Linked DNA regions of Homo sapiens: region 1 is linked to region 2. Evidence: promoter capture Hi-C in human tissues and cell types (Jung and others, 2019). All regions are on one chromosome and are shown on one strand. Each heading gives the region's core, a stretch centred on a gene start or on the middle of the fragment in contact. The rest is flanking DNA. Distances are from core to core; before and after follow the strand shown. Region 1 overlaps FHOD3 (formin homology 2 domain containing 3). Region 2 holds the start of FHOD3 (formin homology 2 domain containing 3).

Region 1 (4,285 bases), core at 1,611-4,110, 350 kb before region 2:
CCCTTATTCTCAATGAATGGCCACCCCTGATTTTCAATGAGTGTGTTTCAGGGGTGCAGTTCCACTCCCACTTCAAGGGTAGCACATAGTCCAAGTGGGGCCAATTCATATCACACCTGGGGTTTCTCCTGGTACCATCAGGGATGACTCACTATAAGGACACCCTGAGTCCAAGAAAAACATAGTTGAAACTGGGAGAAAAGGAGAGGAAAGCAGTCCCCCCGACCATTTTAATGCCTGTATCCAGCAATTCTGGAGCTCTACCCTAGCCTTTCACTAATGGAAAATAATAAATTCTCGTTGTTGCTTAGGGTGGTTTCAATTGGGTTTTGTCCTTGCAGCTAAGTACAGACTAAAAACTTTAAAAACTGGGACATTCTCTTTCTCTGGTCTCTAAGTCCTGTCAACAACCGACTTATGTGGTCATGGTCCACATGGAACACCTGTTCAATGCCCTGCTGGGCTTCTCAATCCCTTGCCTTGCTGAACTCCAGTGACCTCCACCTTTAGCCCCTCCCACTCTAGACCTCACCATCGTACATAACTAGCCCACCTTGGAAATCTTACATCCAACCTTCCCACCCCTGACCACAAGCCCCCATTCACCCAAATCTCTCATTCCTTTCCTCTCACCCAAATTCTTCACCTCCTAATGCATGTGCATCCTCTACTTTCTCAATGCCCCCAGCATCTTCTTGCTTTCAGTCCTTACGGATCCACCATGTCTCACTCCAGGCATCATCTACCAGGATCTTTAACTCTGTCATCCCACTGTCCTTCAGCTGTTTTTTCCTTTTTAACCAACATATAAAATACATACAGAAAAGTACACAAACCACTGAATTTTCACAAAATAAACACACCTATCTAACCAGCACCCCCTTAATGCTCCTTTCCAATTGCTTCCCTCTCCCACCCCACATCAAATAGTGTAAGTTAGCTTTGCCTGGTTTTATTCTCCATCTAAAAGGAATCATAATCTGCCTAGCTTTTGTTCAACATTACAGCTGTGGGATTCATTGACATAGTTACGTATACTTGAAGATCATTCCTTCTTATTGCTGTATTCCAGTAGTTTACCCATTCTACTTCTGATGACCCTTGGGTACCCTTCAATTTGGGGCTATTTTGAATAGTGCTGTCATAAACAGTGTAGTACATGTCTTCTGGTGAACATATGTATATATTACTGTGTACTATATCTTGGGATGAAATTTTTGGGTCATAAGATATGCTTGGGTTCATCTTTATTAATAACTGCCATTTAAAAAAATGATGGGATGAATTACCATCCCCATAAGTAGTAGATGAGCATTCTGATTGTTTTACATTCTTGCCAAGATCTGATAATTTTGTCTATTTCATTTTAGCCATTGATCTGTGTGTAGTGATGTCTCACTGTGCTTTTAGTTTGCTTTCTCTGATGACTAATGAAGTTGGGCACACTGTCACACTTTTAATGTCCATTTGGATATGCTCTTCTTTGAAGTGTCCAAGTAGTTTTTTGCCCATTAAAAAAATGAATTTTTTTTTGTATTTGAAGAAGTGTGTTTTTGAAGACAAAGTTTTGCTCTTGTTGCCCAGGCTGGAGTGCAGTGGCACGATCTTGGCTCACTGCAACCTCTGCCTCCCGGGTCAAGCGATTCTCCTGCCTCAGCCTCCCAAGTAGCTGGGATTACAGGCACCCACCACCATGCCCAGCTAATTTTTTGTATTATTATTTAGTAGAGACGGGGTTTCATCATGTTGGCCAGGCTGGTCTCAAACTCCCGACCTCAGGTGATCCACCCGCCTTGGCCTCCCAAAGTGCTGGAATTACAGGCATGAGCCACCGCACCCGGCCGAAGAAGTGTTTTTAATATCATTTGCCCTTTGTCATTTATATGTTCTGTAAACATCTTTCCCTTCTCTATTGTCTTTCATTCACTTCATGTCATCTTTTAATAAGCAGAAGTTCTTAATAATGTCCTGTTTACCTTTGATGGCTAATGCCTTTGTGTGTTAATTTTTGTTGTTGTTGTTTACACCAGGTCTTAAAGATAGTCTCTGTGTCCTTCTAAAAGCTTCATTTCACTAACTTTCAGATTTACATTTGTAGAGTCCATCTCTAATTGATTTTTGTTATCATGTAAGATAGGGGTCAGATACATTTTTTTCCCTACATCGATACGCAATTGGCCCAGAACCATTTAGTAAAGGGCCTTCTCTCCACTTCAGTATCTTGTTCACAAATCAGGTTAATATACATTAAGATATATATTTGTAGATTTCTGGACTTTTTCTCACAAGTCAACTTGTTTTTTGCTGTACTATTGATAGGGATTATGTTGAATTTATATGCAAATTTGAAGAACTGACATCTTTGCTATGTTTTTTAATCTATGGTTGTGATATATATAGCCTTTATTTAGACCTAATCTTACTGCTATCTTAATTTCTCTTAATAGTGTTTAAATTTTCACAGAGGTCTTAGATATCTTTATTTTTAGGTATAAATTTGGATGCTACTGTACATATTATTGAACTCAATTTTATTTTCTATTTGTTGATAGTATATAGAAATAAACTTTTTGTAAATTTTGCTTGTATCCAGCAATTTTTCTAAATTTATTATACTGTTTCTAGAGCTTCTTTTAGACTTCCTCTGTAGACAATCGTTTCATCACTAAATAATGATGGCTTTACCTACTTCTTTCCAATTCATCTGCCTTTCCTTTTCCTTGCCCTAGTCCACTTGCTAGGACCTCCAACATTATGAAGAAATGGAGACAGTGATGCTTCCTTTTCTTGTTCCAAATCTCAGGGAAAAGTATAAGGTTTGTCATAGATTTTTTTGGTAGATAGCCTTCATTAAAAAATTTCCTTCTAATCCTAGTTTGCTAAAAATCTTTATTATAAACAAGTATTAAAGTTCTGTCAAATGCCTTTCCTGCATTTAAGATAATCATATGATTTTTCCTTTTTTCTGTTAAAGAGCTATGAAGACTGCTTTTTTAAAAAAAATGTTAAGCCAACCTTGCATACCATGAATAAACTTAATAAAGATAATACATTTTGTTGTAATGTATTATCTTTTTATATACAGCTAGATTCTATTTCTTAATTTATTAAGAATTTTTTACCTATTTTGGAAAGAGATTGATCTGTAATTCCCCTTTCTATAATGTGCTTGTCAGATTTTGAAATCAAGGTTATACTGGCCTTATAAAGAGGTAGGTAGAGGGATTGAGAATTATGTAACTAAGAAGGGAGAGATGGATCTGGACTCGGGGTGCCTCTAGCAGAAACAAGGAGAGCAGTGAGATAGCATCCCTCCTGTCATGGCAGAAGCCACAAACAAGCACATCTAAGCCATCCTTCCTTTTTTTTTGAGACAGAGTCTCACTCTGTCACCCAGGCTGAGGTGCAGTGGCACAATCTCACCATCTTGGTTCACTGCAGCCTCTGATTCCTGAGTTCAAGTGATTCTCGTGCCTCAGCCTTCCGAATAGCTGGGACTACAGGCATATGCCACCATGGATGAATATTTTTGTATTTTTAGTAGAGATGAGTTTTTACCATGTTTGCCAGGCTGGTCTTGAACTCCTAACCTCAAGTGATCCACCCACCTCAGCCTCCCAAAGCCACCATGCCCGGACTCAGCCATCCTTCTGAGCTTGGCATAGTATACCCTCATACACACCACCCCCTACCAGCCTCAGTCTTCTTTTCCTCCATGTGCTCCCACAGCTGCCAAACTATACCTACAAGCTCCATCATGAGGCCACCTTCCCTCAGCTTGATCAGGAGTTTGCAGGTGTTATTACTTCTGGTCCACACAAAATGCCCTCCACCTTGCCAACCGATGGGCCTCTCCTCTTTAAAACAAAACACTGAGCCCCTCCCTCCAAAATTCCTTGATTCCATTTACTCTCCCAGGTAGAGCTGGAGAGGTTCTGGAGCCAGACTGCCTGGGTCTGGTCTTCAGAGTCACCACTTTTGAGCCCTGTGACCTTGGACCCCACTTTACTCATCCCTACATGGGGCACTAACAGTACCTATCCCCTAGGAGGAATGCATTAATATGTAAAAGCACTTTGTCTTTTTGATCCAACTCTTTTCCAAATGGCTGTCTCACAGATATTTAAAGACAGCTATCTGAACCTACATCCCAAGCTGTCTTCTCTTTGGGCTCAACATCCTCAGATCCCACAATAAATCTTCATATGATGTATGTGTTGTAGCTTTGCTATCATAAGTGGCAGGGCAGAACCAAGGGCAGACAGCACAATGACCCACTTGGAGG
Region 2 (4,044 bases), core at 114-2,613:
CAGAAATCCGAGGTTTTTTTTTAAATCAATTTTGTTCTTTTGGGCATCAACGCTTATCTCTTCCAAATATGTGTTAATGTCGACCCTCAAGAAATAAATCATCTCCAAGCTTTGATATGAATCCTAGGCAGAAAAAATACTGGGAAGGTAATTTTGCAAGCTGCATTCAATCTGTCTAAGTGAGAGTAAGGGTTTTCCTAGGTAACGAAATGATTAGCTTTCAATACCCACCTCTTTGCAACAAATGCTTTGCAAGAGGCCTATCCTCCTGCAAAAGGTTTTATTTAAATAAAAATAACAAATAAAAAAAAAAAAACCTCTCTAACGGGTAGACTGAGCAGCCATTCTTCCCAGGGGACACTCATTTCGGGCTGCCAAGCTGAGGCTTTGTGAGCGCGCCGCCCCTCCGCGCCCCCGCCCCTCCTCCCACAGCGACTGCTCCTCCGAGGTTCCCAAGGCCACCTGCTTCTCAGAAGAAAAGGGGGATACCCTGAGCGCTATCGCAGTGTGCGGCCGGCGTCCCCGGCGGCGCCCCCGGGGGAAGGAGGAGGCGGTGTCGCCGGGAAGCGTGCTTTGTCGCGAGGGTCGCGTGGCCGCCCGCAGCGGCCCCAGAGGCCTGAGGGAGGTTTTGTCCCGGCCGTCGCTCAGAGCTCTCCTCTCCAAGGGACCTGAGTCTCGCGGCGCTCCGCTTCTTCCCGCGCCCCGCTTGGTGCCCGCCCGAGTGCCGAGGCCGACTGCCCGCGTCCTAGCCCCACCCCGCCCACCCGGCCGAGCTAACGGCGCGGCTCGGGGGAGCCTTCTCCATCCCGCCTCGGACCGGCTCGGCACCTGCTCTGCCACGCCCGCCCCCGGCTCTAGCTGTTCCTTCCCGCCCGCCCCGGAGGGTCCTGCGCCAACCAGCGGGTGCCTCGAGCCCTTCTGTCTAACGGGGAGGGGGATTTGCCCTCGAGCGATGGTCCCCCCGGGCCGCGCCCAGCCCAGCCCAGGGGGCCCACGAAGCCCCGGGACCCACCCCGGCGCGCACCGCGGCAGGGGGCTGAGTCCAGGGGGCCCAGCCCACCCCGCCGGGTCGTACCTTGTGCGGCGCCTGCAGCAGCCTATGGACCCCCGCCAGCTGGGTGCCGAGCGCGAGGTCCTCGCGGAACGTGAACAGCGGCGGCCGGCTGGGCTCGGGGAAGTTGGTGCTGTTGAAAGGGTCCGTGTCGTCCAAGAACTGCACCCGGCAAGCCAGCGTGGCCATGATGCATCCCTGCCGCGGGGGCGCGGGCCCCGGGGTTAGCGGGGCCGCGGGCCGGGACGCCCGGGTAGCTGCGCGCAGGGGAGGCCGCAGCCGCAGCTCGCTGGCTCGCGGACTCGCAGGCTCAGGCGCGCCGGGCTGCAGCCCGGGCTCCGGCCGCGGGGGGCGGGGCGGGGGCGGGGCCGGCGGGCCCCCTCCTTCCCCTCTCCCTCCGGCTCCTCCCCTCCTCCGGGTCCTCTACCCCCGGCCGGGCTGCCCCGAACGACCGGACCGCAGCCGGGAAAGTGCAAAGGAGACGGCTCGCGCGGCATCCGCAGCCCTGCGCCAAAGGCCGGCGGCGGAGGCGGGGCGGGGAGGCCGGGCGGCCGGACTCTGCTGCACGTGCGCCCCGCGGCCCAGGGCCGAGCTGCACCCCTCGGAGCCTGGAGGACCGAGTTGGGGAGTTGGGGGGTTGGGGGACGGGGAGACAGGCGGCCTTCTGACTTCTTCCCCACCCGGAGAAGGCTTAAGCCTTTCCAGATGAAGGCGGCGGCGGCCGGCTTCTGCTGCCCAGATTTGGAATACCCCGGCAGGGCACCAGGTGGCCAGGGAGCCGGCTTCGGCAGCAAGAGGGGTGGTGGCAGTGACCGGGAGCCCCACCTAAGGGTACGGGGAGGTTTCCCTTAGGGACAAAGAAGCTAAGAAAGAGGAGGGTGCGCCAGGGAACCCAGGCCGCTTTTAGGGCACAAGCCTAGAGTCGAGAGGCGTGGGGGCTGCGAGGCTTCGCTGCGGGACTCCAGCGCCGGGCCTGGACCCCGGGGCTCCCGGCGGATGCTGGTTAAACCTCTGCATCACCACGGCCTCTCCCCAGTTAGGCCGCCGAAAGCCCTAATTGGACCTTGTGGGGCCGCGGGGGCTTGGGGAGGTGGGAGCCCTTCTGGCAAGGTTCCCGAATTGCAGAGAGCCGGGGATGCCCTGGTAACCGAGGGACTGGGAAGGAAGGTTTGCGTCCTGCCCGCCCCTGCCAGGCGGGAGCGGCAAGACTCGGCGCTGCCTCCCACCGCTCTCCTCGCTGCTCACGGGCGACCCCCTTCGTTTTCAAGAAAAATTCACGGTTCTCCCTATTCCCAGGCCACAGCCAAGTTCCTGGTTCCTCCCCCCTTATATAGATCGCCCTCATAACACCCAGTCTCTCTTAACATCCGAGTGTTTTCAAGGCGACTCTATAACGCGTCTATCTCCCTTTCCTCTGGTTTCAAGGGAAAAGAAACCCTTATCCCTATTTAGCAGCCTCACCCACATCTTTAACCTCTCCCTCTCCGTGATCTCCCTCCCTGCCACACATACACACTTATGCCTGATCTTAAAATAATAATTCCACGACACTTCCGCTCCTTCCAGACGAACTTCTAGCTCTACTTTCTTTGTTATTTAACTCTTTGAATGAATCCTCTAGATTAGCCGTCCCCAATCTTTTTGGCACCAGGGACCGGTTTTGTGGAAGACGATTTTTCCACGGACAGTGGTGGGGTGGGGGTGGGGGGCGTTTGGGGGAGGAAGGGCAGATGGTTTCAGAATGAAACTGTTCCACCTCAGATCATCAAGAATTAGATTCTCATACGAGCGCGCTACCTAGATCCCTCGCATGCGCAGTTCAGAATAGGGCTCTCTCTGGCATGAGAATCTAATGCCTCCGCTGATCTGACAGGAGGCGGAGCTCAGGCGGTAATGCTCGCTCACTGGCCGCTCACCTGCTGTGTGGCCCGGTTCCTAACAGGCTACGGACCAGTACCGGTCTGCGGCCGCGGGGTTAGGGACCCCTGATCTAGACTGGATCTCCACCAACTTCCGCATCTCCTCACAGCCAGAATACTAAACGCACGAATTCTTCCCCTCTGAGATGGGCCGCCTGCACTTCCACCTTCACGTCCACCTCCCTCCTCACTGAGAGAGCCCTCCAGTCCTGGCCACCTCATTTCCTATCACTTTTCCAACCCGGATCCCAGCCCATCCTCTCAGGGGCCTCCTCTCCACACCCCTCCTTCAGTCCCACCTGTCCTTTGGGTACCTGGCTTGCTTCTGCCCCATCTACCAAGTGCCTGCTGCTAGTGGGACCACTCAGTGCCCCACTTCCACCCCAAAGCCCCTCAGCCTCTTACTCCACTGATGCTGCTGCAAGCTTCTGCCCCTTTCCTCGACTCAGAAATTAGTCAATAAGGTAAATAATTTCTCCAGAATGACTTCTAGCACCCTCTCCTCTTCATCTTTCATCTTATTTTCCATCTCCTCTCCATCTTCCATCTCCCACTTCTCAGAAGGTGACCAAAGTCATACTTTTCCTCCCATTCAAGGCTCTGCCCCCACCTGGACCCTGGGTCCCTTTCATCCCACTTGCTCTTGCCTGGGGCTCTATCACTGATCCACTCACTTCCACCTTCCTCCCCTGGCCCCTTACCCTGAGAACCAGGGCCTGCTTCCTGATGTGCAACTCTTGAAGCCACACAGGGCTCTGCACTTTAAAGGGTCCCAAATTGGTTTAATGTTTAGCTGTTGTTGTCTTGAATTTTTTAAATACTTTTTTAAGGAGTCCCGGCATTTTAGTTGTGCACTGGGCCCCATAAGTTATGTACTCAATCCTAATGAGAATAAATACTCAAGTGTTTTCCATCTTAAAAGCTGCATCTTTATGAAGCCCACTTCTCACTCTAGCTCCCTGGCTTATCTCATCATCACTTCCTAACCAACTTCTGAGAGAGAGCCATATTCATTTCTTAGCATCCTCATCACCTTTTCTCCATACCCCATGACATCTGGAAGGAAACCCCTTC

The links. The method cuts DNA at HindIII sites, captures the fragments that hold promoters and counts their contacts. A contact is called where the count stands out against the background at its distance.
Region 1: a contact is called between a fragment that was not itself captured here and the fragment with the promoter of FHOD3 in region 2, in 1 of the 25 tissues and cell types used here (dorsolateral prefrontal cortex).

Annotation. Positions count from the first base shown.
Region 1 is chr18:36,644,513-36,648,797 of GRCh38, reverse strand. All of the region lies in intron 10 of FHOD3 (formin homology 2 domain containing 3), which reads right to left. Among named protein-coding and RNA genes, the nearest start is that of TPGS2, 180 kb to the left of the region's middle. The HindIII fragment of the contact is 3,860 bases long and covers 931-4,285 here.
Region 2 is chr18:36,295,032-36,299,075 of GRCh38, reverse strand. It overlaps FHOD3 (formin homology 2 domain containing 3), which reads right to left and starts at 1,363. Exons shown (of 29, transcript NM_001281740.3): 1 at 1,076-1,363. The coding sequence starts at 1,240. RefSeq lists silencers at 1,121-1,190, 1,311-1,600 and an enhancer at 1,540-2,517. The HindIII fragment of the contact is 5,975 bases long and covers 1-4,044 here.